2 separate regions of the Homo sapiens genome follow, and region 1 is linked to region 2. The links are contacts of gene promoters, found by promoter capture Hi-C in blood cells and fetal thymus (Javierre and others, 2016). All regions are on one chromosome and are shown on one strand. Each heading gives the region's core, a stretch centred on a gene start or on the middle of the fragment in contact. The rest is flanking DNA. Distances are from core to core; before and after follow the strand shown. Region 1 overlaps LOC107987282 (a long non-coding RNA gene). Region 2 holds the start of WFDC3 (WAP four-disulfide core domain 3).

Region 1 (5,457 bases), core at 2,425-4,924, 290 kb after region 2:
TGATTCCCAAATATACCTGGTACCCTATTGGCCTAAGAACCCCCTTCTCAGGATCCCAAACCACCATTCATTTCCTCTGGTTCCCTTCTAACTCTCTTCTTTAAACCTCCAATGGGGAGAATTTTATACATGGCGGGGAGCAGAAAGGAAGCAAGGGGTTGTTAAAACCTGATTCTGGTTTTTCATATATTCTTTCATCTCGTGATCTGCATTCACTCTGATGTAATTAAAACACTTTCTTCCCAAAATTAAGGTTCTAGCTCCGATGGTCTAATGATCTCTAAGATCCCTGATACCCTTAATTGCTCAGTTATCTCCAAATAAGCCCTTTGTCTTAGATCTGAACCTTCTCTTTTGAACTCTACAAGCCAAGAATTTAAATATTCTGCGAGCTGTATAATGCTGTCCTGTCTCCTCCCCAGGCATGAGGTAGAATGTCCAGGTGCCAGAAGTGAGAGAAAGACCAAAGAGAAGTAGATCTACAGGTATAAAGCTCCAATTAGCATCTCAAAGTAATATCCTCTCCATAGGCTTTTAATTACTTTATATATGCATATAAAGTATATATACTTTATATATAGTATATAATGCTATATATTTTTGTATAAATTTATATATGCTATTATAAATGTTTATATATATGAAAATAGTAAAAATAGTACTCATATACAATAAGTATATACTCTCTCTATATAGTGTGTGTGTATATATATATATAGAGAGAGAGAGAGAAGGAGGGAGAGAGAGTGTGTACTATTTTCACTATTTTCTACCAGCGTTTTTTTTTTTCTACCAAGACTTTTACTTAGCATTATATTATAAACTTTTTCCCAGGTGGGTGAATATTCTCTGGTGTCATTGTTAATGGCTACATAATATTCTGACCTACCAAGCATTGTAATTTACTTAGTTTACTTGGTTTCCAATGGTTCATTATTATAAAATAGCACAAGGTTAAACACAAGCACAGACACCCTTTGAAAATAACATCCTGTGATTCTGTGAAGAAACAAATTCCCAAAGAGAAGGCAGTTCTGTTGCAGTGGGGGCAGACTGGATACACCATTCTGTACCACCAGGGCAGGAATTCAGGGGAACTCTCACAGGAGGTGAGGGAAGAGGCAGGACACAAGGACTACAGAACTAGTCCTGTGGATCAGGGTCTTCTACAGGGATGAAGTCTAATTGTTGGCTGGCTGGGGCTCAACTAGGGAAGCATGCACTTCCAAGCCCACTTATATGGTTGCTGGCAGGATTCAGTTGCTTGCAGGTCACTTCCAGTTCGTTGGTCAGTGGGTCCTTCCAGAGGGCAGCTCATAACCTATAGATTGCTTTATCAGAGTGAGCAAGCAAGAAGCTCCAGAGAGACTGAATAGAAGGTAGAAGTCACAGTCTTTTGTTTTTAGACGGAGTCTCACTCACTCTGTCACCCAGGCTAGAGTGTAGTGGTGCAATCTCGGTTCACTGCAACCTCCACCTTCCAGGTTCAAGCGATTCTCCTGCCTCAGCCTCCCGAGTAGCTGGGATTACAGGCATGTGCCACCATGCCTGGCTACTTTTGGTATTTTTAGTAGAGATGGGGTTTCACCATGTTAACCAGGCTGGTCTCGAACTCCTGACCTCAGGTGATCCACCTGCCTCGGCGTCCCAAAGTGCTGGGATTACAGGTGTAAGCCACCAAGCCCAGTCAGTCTTTTTTTTATTAATACATAATTGTTATACATATTTATGGGGGGCATTTGATATTTTGATACATGCACACAATGTATAATAATCAAATCAGAATAACTGGCATATCCATCACCCAAGGCAGTTATCATTTCTTTGTGTTGGGAACATTCCAAAGTTTTTCTTCTAGCTATTTTGAAATATACAATAAGTTATTGTAGTCATAGTCTTTTGTAACCTAATCTCAGAAGTGACGTCCCAACATTTTCCATGACATCACTACTCATTAGAATCAAGTCACTAGGTTCAGTCCACACTCGAGGAGGAGAACACACAAAGGCATAAAAACCAGGAAGTGGAGGTCATTGGAGTCATCTGAGAAGTCTGACTGCCACCAGGAGCAACTTGCCCAGAGTCAAATGCAGTGAGAGCTTAAAGTCTCAGTTCTTGGCTGGGAGTGGTGGCTCACACCTGTAATCTCAGCACTTTGGGAGGCAAATGTGGGCAGATCACTTGAGGCCAAGAGTTCAAGATCAGCCTGGCCAACATGGTGAAACCTAGTAAAAATACAAAAAAGTTAGCCAGGCATGGTGGTGCACACCTGTAATGCCAGCTACTTGGGTGGCTGAGGCATAAGAGTCACTTGAACCCAGAAGCGGAGGTTGCAGTAAGCCAAATTCATGCCACTGCACTCCAGCTTGAGAGACAAAGTGAGACTCTGTCTCAAAAAAAAAAAAAGTCTCAGTTCTAGAATTGGGAAGATTTGTTTAGAGAAACAGGGTGGGCAGCTTTACCATCATCTGGTTATGACGGATTGTAAGCTTGGACAGAGGTAGTGGCATTGAGAATTCAAAGCAAAAAATAAGAACTGATAAAAACACCCTGCTTTGCTACCAAAAAAGTTTTGCAGCTTCACGTCTCTTCTCTTTAAATCAATAAAAAGGCCACACTGTGGGGAGAAAATGTCGATTCTTTGGTCTCTTCCCTCTCCTCTCCTTCTTCCCTGAGATTTATTCACAGGTGAAAGCTTAAGGCTCATAGTGCCTGGTCCCTATCAGTACAAATACCCAGTAGTTCTAAATCACCATGTCTGGATTCTGAGAGCTCTTGTGTTATAAAAGTTGCTGGCATGCAAAGACAAACAGATAAACTTAACTCTCACAAAGTGTACCAGAGGCTAGTGTGTGCCAGATATGCTACATGAGCACTGGGAAGAACCCTCCTGACATAATATTGAGGTCCCATTAAATTTTTTAATTCACACTTGCTAGAGAAAAATCTTCCAAATGCCCCTTGGGGCAGTGGCAAGCTCCTCAAGTCCTTTAAAAATGTTTCTGGGAAGAATGAAAGAATATATGGGATAGAGAACAGTTTAAGAATATATATTAATGCAGATTCATAGATTTACCCAGTTGACAATATTAGGTAAAGATTTTCTTGTATCATTAAATATTCTGTAACATAATTGCTAATATGTGTAGAGCTTTACTTGCATAAAGAGATCACCATTTATTTAAACAAGCTTCAATGGTTACATGTTAATGTTAAATGTTAAAGGTTGTTGAGGTTTTCTCGATATAGTAAGTAATCACTATGGGTATTTCTGGTTGTTTACTCATGATAGATTCTAAGTGGAATTTCTGGGTCAACTGTGGACATGCATTTGAAAAGCTTTTGACACATAATACCTTCCTTTAAGATTTTAATAACTACTGTTTATGAAACACTTAGGATATGTCAGGAACCAACCTAAGTGCTTTGCATGCATTATCTCATTTAATATTCGCAATAGCCCTGAGAAGAAGATTCTATTAATATCTGTATCTTACAAATGAAAAAGTTGAAGGTCAGAAAGATAAATTACTTGCCCAGAATAACAAATTAGGAAGGAATGAAGATGGTGTTGGAATCAAAGTCTAATTCTAGAGCCAATGCTTTTTAATCAGTTTGCTATCATTAAAGTTCAGCTCTGCCATGACCTATTTACCTCCCCATCCCATAAAATCCCCTGGACCTCTCCATGTAGACTACACAGAGATATTCCAGGCCTGCCTGCTTCTACTCTTCATGTTTACAGCTGTGGGTTCTTGAAAGCAGTGACTTTGCCTTACACATTTCTTCTCTACAGTGAGCCAAGCAAAACGGTATGCACAGAATAAGTACTCAACAAGTACTTGTAGATTAGTTTTGTAGACATGATACCATGGAGGAAAAGAGGGACCTGGGATTTCTTTTTTAGAGTTAAAGTGTTAAGCTATGAGTCAGAGCCATGATTCTCATAGTCTCTGAATTATAGAAGGAAGGAAGGAGAGAAAGAAGGATGGTGGGAAAGTGAAGCTTAATGCCCTCTCGGGAGTAAGACACTCCATTAACTAATGGAGTAAACCCTGGCTTAAGACATTTAACCCAAACCTCAGAGAGATCAGAGTCCCAAACCTCCCCTACCCGCATCGTGCCCACAGGCTCAGAAGAGTAGATGGAACACATCAAAATGTCACATCGTAGGCAAGGATAGGAAGCCAAAAAGGGCTCAGTAAAGGTAGACAAGGGGTCAAGGATAGAATTAGAAAATCATCATTTAACAGCTGGGCATGATGGTTCACACATGTAATCCCAGCACTTTGGGATGCCGAGGTGGGAGGAACTCTTGAGGCTGGGAGTTCAAGACAAGCCTGAGCAATATAACGAGACCGTCTCTACAAAAAACATAAATAAAAGAAAAAAATAAAAGGAAAACATCATCTAGCAACCATTAAATAATCATTGATTTAGGCAAGAATCATCAATGTATGCTAAAACTAGTGGGTAAAATTTTGAGAAGTAATAATATTTTTGCATAGATCCAAAGTATCTTCCCACAAATACTTATTTATTGCAAATGGGAAAATAGGCAGCCACCATCTTACTCAAGTAGTCAAAGTTAACACCATTAGTAACAAAACAAATCAACAGCATGTGCCTCGTGGTATGATCCACCACAAAGAACACAGTATCTTTTCTATAGTATTCCTGCCAGAAACGCATAACATGAATTTAATTGTGAAGAAATAGCAGATAAACTCAATTGAGAGACAGTCTGTAAAATACATGGCCTTTAATCGTCCAAAATGTTAATGTCATGAAAGACAAAAAAAGATTGAGAAACTTTTCCAGATGAAAGAAGATTAAAGGAAGATCTGCTCCTGAACTAAGTAATTTTAAAAAGGAAAAAGAAAGAAGATTAAAGAGGTGTGACAGCTAAATGCAACACAGGATCCAAGATTTTCTTTTGTTGTAAAGGACATTATTGAGACAATTTGTAGAATCCGAATAAGGTCTAGAGATGGGCTTTGTAGGCATGCACCCAAATCACACAGGGCCCTGGACACAGAAGGACCCTGCACCCAGGATGTAATTCCCTGTGGTCATTGTCTTAAAATTCTCAGTTATTTAAATTTGTGTTTGTAAGTGAAGGTTAATTAGACGATGGTGCATGCTCCAGGAGCTAGGCGTCCGGACTCAAGAGCAGTGCCACCTCTTGCTGCCTCCCTGGGATGGGTTCTCAGCAACTCGCCCTCCACCCACTGACACCATGGCTCTGCTCAGCCCGCCCCTTTCCACCTTTGCCCCCTGACTGCTGCTATGCAGATGACAGTTGAATCACATTGGCAAGGGGAGGCTCATGTTCTACCGTTGCCAACCACTCCCAGTGGGGGCTTGGGAAAGGGTGCAGGAAGGGTCAGAGTTAGGTGTGCACATCCTGTGGCATTTCAGGGAGTGCCAATTACTGTCCCAGTCCCAGGCTGGCAG
Region 2 (5,395 bases), core at 214-2,713:
GGTGATCCACCCACCTCAGCCTCCCAAAGTGCTGGGATTACAGGCGTGAGCCACCGCGCCCGGCCCAAAGTGTTTTTATGAAATATAATACTTATACAGAAAAGTCTATACACTTTAATGAGTAATTATAGTGAACATCCATTTCACCACTATCAGCATCCCAAAGGCCCACCTTGTGCTCTCTCCCTTCCCTGACATGCATACTATTAATCCCTCTTTATAGTTGAGAAAACGGGCTCATCAGAGTCTGTTGATGAGAACACAGTTGTCTGACTCCAGAGCCTGTTCTCTTAAACTCCATGCTAACTGACCTCTTTAGAGCCCTCAACCACAGAGCCAGTGAATGTGAGGGATCTTAGGTATTGTTTATTCCACAACCCATCTCCTGTGCCCTTCCCCATTTTGTACGTGAGTTCAGAGAAGGAAGTGACTTGACTAGTTCAAGATCACACAGAGTTACAGAATCGGAGTCTCCTCTTCCTCAGTCCTGTGCTCTTTCTACCGGCTGTAGATCTCCATAGCCTTGTGCACTGGGGATCCCAAATCTGCCATGCAAGCCAGTGGCTGGGATATAAGCCCCATGCAGGGCCAGCCTTACCTTGTTGTCATCTGTGAGCGGCGGCCCCTCCGCTGCACCTGCCGGTGCTTTATCATTATGTTCCAAGGGTTCTGTGGGGACCAACGGAACAAATGTCACTGCGGCCTGTGACACTGGGGTGGGGTGGAGGTGGAGGGTGGGTATGAAGTTAAACCTGGACATCCCTGCTTCTCAGATCCGTCACCATCTCTCCCGCCTTGGGGTGGGACGATAGTTGTAAGGCCTCCTCCACAAAAGAGGAACTGAGGAAGTTTCCTGCCTTAAAAGTCCCGACCCTGCCTTCTGGCACGGCAGGAGGAAGGGAAGCAGTATTTACCGAGGGTCAACTCTGTGTCAGGTGATGTCCGGGGCGTTGTACCCGCCTTTATCTTCCCATCCCACAACAAGTTTTATGAGACAGGTACTAATCATTTCCATTTTATAGAAGAGGATCCTGGGACTCAGGGGGTTGACAGAGATGGCCCACGTCACCTAGCTAGGAGGGCGGCACCAGAATTTAAATCCAGGTCGTCGGGCTGCGAAAACGCCAACCCCCTCTGCAGCTCCAGCCTCCGCGTTCTCTCGCCCGCGGGCCAGGGTCCCAGGAGCCCCGAGGCCGTGCCCGGCCTGAGCCCAGACCTCACCGGGGGCGCCCTCACCGTAAGAACCAGCTGCCCCGCTGCGCCCGCATCCCCCAGCTCCAAGCCGCCCCTCTCGGCCCCGCTAGGTCCCCGCGGCTGCTCGGCGTCGCCAGTGGCTCCCATGGCGCCCCCGGCCCCCACAACTCCGCTGGACTCTGTCACCGGCCGGAAAGTGGCGCCGTGACGTCACTGGAGCGCGCTGCTCGTCCGCCCGGAAGCGCGACGCTGGAGCTGCGGGGTTACCATGGGAACCGAACCGCCGCGCCTCGCCCAGGACAGTTACACTTAGAGGCCTTGTAGGTGGAGGTCGTTGGGGCTTCCTCTCGGGAGGGCTGCGCCTCGATTGTGCAGTGTGGGTGTTCAGTGGCGGTTCAGTCAAGGGATGTTTCCCGCTGGGCCAAGGCCTGGGGATGACTGCGGGGTAGGAGGAAGGGACCAGTTTTCTGTAGGCTGGGGTTGGGGAGCAGAGGGAAGCGTTTGGTACAGCGGCGCCTGCAGTTCAGTTTTTGAAAACTAGATTTTAATATGCTCGGCCAGGGGCGGTGGCTCACGCCTGTAATCCCAGCACTTTGGGAGGCCGAGGCGGGAGGATCACTTGCCATCAGGAGTTCGAGACCAGCCTGGCCAACATGGCGAAACCCCGTCTCTACTAAAAATATAAAAATTAGCCGGGCGTGGTGGTGGGCACCTGTAATCCCAGCTACTCGGGAGGCTGAGGCAGGAGAGTCTCTTGAACCCAGGAGGCGGAGGTTGCAGTGAGCCGAGATCACGCCACTGCACTCCAGCCTGGGCGACAGAGGGAGACTGTCTCAAAAAAAAAAAAAAAAAAAGCACATTAGGCACATGTTAGGTCATCATCAAATGTTAATTATGCCGAGATCGCGCCACTGCATTCCAGCCTGGGGGACAGAGGGAGACTCTGTCTCAAAAAAAAAAAAAAAAAAAAAAAAAAAAGCATATTAGGCACATATGAGGTCATCATCAAATGTTAATTATCTCCATGAGCCAACATCAGCCTTCTAACCATAAGGGCGACTTCCTGGCTCCAAACTTTTTGATCCTATTAAGGAGGTTTTACCTTGTACCTGCCCATAGGACTAAGCAGTGCCAGTGGACACCATTAGGTATCACAGCTAACCAAAGGCATGACCAGGACAGATAAAGAAAAAAAGAAATGGAGAAAAAAGAAATAAAGGAGGTATATGTGGGCAGACTATTTGAGTCATACATAGCAACTTCTCTTGGGTTCTGCCAGCTAGACTTCATACAGTCCAAGAATGGCCTGTGTGGGTTAGAGGGACAAAGATGTAGGTGTTTGGTGCTTTTCATTAGTTCTTAACAAACTCAACTACTGCTTTTCTGTAGGTTTTTGATAGTTTCTTTTCTCTCTTTTTTTTTTTTTTGAGACAGAGTCTCACTCTGTTACCCAAGCTGGAGTGCAGTGGCATGATCTCCACTCACTGCAACCTCTGCCTCCTGGGTTCAAGCTATTCTCCTGCCTCAGCCTCCCACGTAGCTGGGATTACAGGCATGCACCAGCATGCCCAGCTGATTTTTGTATTTTTAGTAGAGACAGGGTTTCGCCATGTTGGCCAGGCTGGTCTCAAACTCCTGACCTCAGGTGATCTGCCCGCCTTGGCCTATTTGATAGTTTCTGAGTGGTCTGTTCCATTCTGTATTTTCTTGGTTGCTAGGATGAACAGGAGCCACAATTTTATTATGCTTGGTTATGTTATTAGCTTTGGCCATTAAGTAGTGTCGTGAATCCCTCCCTCTGTTATTTGGGCTAAAGCCATGTCCTTCCAATGCCCTTTAGGGCTCTCTTTGATTCTTTTTCCAATGGCCACCCCTCCATTTTTCCAGCCACCCACTAGGTTTCTCATCATCCAGGAATATTGTGTATATTGCTTACAGAATTTGATCCTCCCATCACAGGTCCCCTTTGGTAGTGCCAGGAATTTTCCCACACTCCAGCAGCCAATCCCTCTTCTTCTTGTCAGGAGAAGATATTCTTGGGGAGTATTGTGAAAGGGAAGGTTTTGGGACTGGGTTTGGGGCCATCCCTAGTCCTGCTCATACCTCAGCTGATACTCTGGGCAAGGTGTACACCTCTAGCCTGAACTGAGCTCTTGTCCCAACTCTCAGCATCATCATGATGTTAAGCTGCCTCTTTCTTCTGAAGGCACTTCTTGCTCTTGGGTCTCTGGAATCCTGGATAACTGCAGGAGAACATGGTGAGCTATCATTTGGGATCCCTGGCCAACAGTAACAGAAAGTGACTAGAGGAGAGGAGAACTCATCCCCTGCCTTCTCCCAGAGCAAGGTTGCTTGTAAGTGGAGATGATCATCTCTATAGGACAGGACTGGATGAATAGATTCTCAGGATGGCCTGGGTCATTCTTCCTGGCTTTCTTTACCCTCTCTGGACAAGGAGATAGGACTTCCAGTTGGGCTTACTAGAGGTTCTAGCTTTTCCCTAGAACTCATTAAATGAGAACAGGATCATCCCACCCTTTCTCTCTCGTTATCTGCAGGATGGCTGCTCCTTTAGCAGTGGTGGATATATGTTAGTATTTGTGTATGAGGAGGGGAAGGTGGTTGCAGAATTTTTTTTTTTTTTTTGAGATGGAGTCTCACTCTGTCACCCAGGCTGGAGTGCAGTGGCGTGATCTCAGCTCACTGCAAACTCCACCTCCCAGGTTCACGCCATTCTCCTGCCTCAGCCTCCCGAGTAGCTGGGACTACAGGTGCCCGCCGCCACGCCCAGCTAATTTTTTGTATTTTTAGTAGAGATGGGGTTTCACTGTGTTAGCCAGGATGATCTCGATCTCCTGACCTCATGATCCGCCCGCCTCGGCCTCCCAAAGTGCTGGGATTACAGGCATGAGCTATCGTGCCCAGCCAGAATTTTTTTTTTTTTTTAAGAGACAGGGTCTCATTCTGTCACCCAGGCTAGAGTGCAGTGGTGCAGAAATATTTTGGATAGAGATGCCTGGAGGGGCTGAAGGTCCATTCCCCATTTCTGAGGCCTGGCTAGTTACCCCAAACTCAAATAGTATCTTTTGCAGCAAAAGAGGGAGAATGCCCTCCCCATAAGAACCCATGCAAAGAGCTGTGCCAGGGTGATGAATTGTGTCCGGCTGAACAGAAGTGCTGCACCACAGGCTGTGGTCGGATCTGCCGAGACATTCCTAAGGGTATGTTGGCATGAGGGGCAAAATCTGGGCATACTCTCTGACATTGCCTCTGGGATAGATGGAAGTAGAGAGCTTCCCACCTTCTAGGTTGCCTCTGGAAGTCTCCCTTGCCTAGAGTACTTCTTCTTTACTCTTTTAGGGTCCCTCCTCCTTTAATTATTCAGTGCCCCCAGTTGTTTGCCTTCCATCAGGAAAGAGCGCACCATTGATTATCTATGTCTTTTACTTTGGACTCAAAGTTCCTGTGAAGGCTGGAGGGAAGAGTTGTAAAGGGAAGGCTGTGTAAGATAATGATTAAGAGAGTAGACCCTAGAGCCAAGCAGACCTTTTTAAGCCTTAAGCCTTAGCTCTTTATAAATCTTAAGCTTTTAGCCTCAGTTTCCTCATCTATAAAATGGGGATAATTGTGAGGATCAAATAAGATGTTCATGGCACAAGGTAAACGTCAGTAAATGTTACAGTAAATATTTGCTATTACTATTGTTGTTATTATTGTCTCTTTGTCTTAGCACCAGGGTTGAGAGGCTTAAATAAATCTCAGGACTTCCTTTTTCTGTTTTTCCCTTCTGCTGTGCCCGTGGGTGTTGCCAGGCACTATTTTCTCTCTCTCTCTCTCTTTTTTTTTTGAGACGGAGTTTCGCTCTTGTTGCTCAGACTAGAATGCAGTGGCGTGATCTCGGCTCACCGCAACCTCTGCCTCCCGGGTTCAAGTGATTCTCCTGCCTCAGCCTCCCAAGTAGCTGGGATTTACAGGCATGTGCCACCACCCCCGACTAATTTTGTATTTTTAGTAGAGATGGGGTTTCTCCATGTTGGCCAGGCTGTTCTCGAACTCCCTACCTCAGGTGATCCACCCGCCTTGGCCTCCCAAAGTGCTGGGATTACAGGTGTGAGCCATGGCGCTCGGCCTATTTTCTCTTTTCTTTGCTGTCTCCCTTTTTGCTACAGGGAGGAAAAGAGATTGCCCTAGGGTTATTCGG

The links. Contacts are between HindIII fragments. The CHiCAGO score rates a contact against its expected background, and 5 or more counts as called.
Region 1: a contact is called between a fragment that was not itself captured here and the fragment with the promoter of WFDC3 in region 2, in 1 of 17 cell types (M1 macrophages). The highest score is 5.6, in M1 macrophages.

What each region holds. Positions count from the first base shown.
Region 1 is chr20:45,500,118-45,505,574 of GRCh38, reverse strand. The region is part of intron 1 of LOC107987282 (a long non-coding RNA gene); the gene reads right to left. Among named protein-coding and RNA genes, the nearest start is that of SPINT3, 13 kb to the left of the region's middle. The HindIII fragment of the contact is 666 bases long and covers 3,342-4,007 here.
Region 2 is chr20:45,787,951-45,793,345 of GRCh38, reverse strand. WFDC3 (WAP four-disulfide core domain 3) reads left to right here and starts at 1,463. Exons shown (of 7, transcript NM_080614.2): 1 at 1,463-1,514; 2 at 3,364-3,452; 3 at 4,287-4,415; 4 at 5,364-5,395. The coding sequence starts at 3,371. DNTTIP1 (deoxynucleotidyltransferase terminal interacting protein 1) reads right to left here and starts at 1,392. Exons shown (of 13, transcript NM_052951.3): 1 at 1,237-1,392; 2 at 599-669. The coding sequence starts at 1,341. RefSeq lists silencers at 690-829, 1,040-1,309. The HindIII fragment of the contact is 10,060 bases long and covers 1-4,782 here.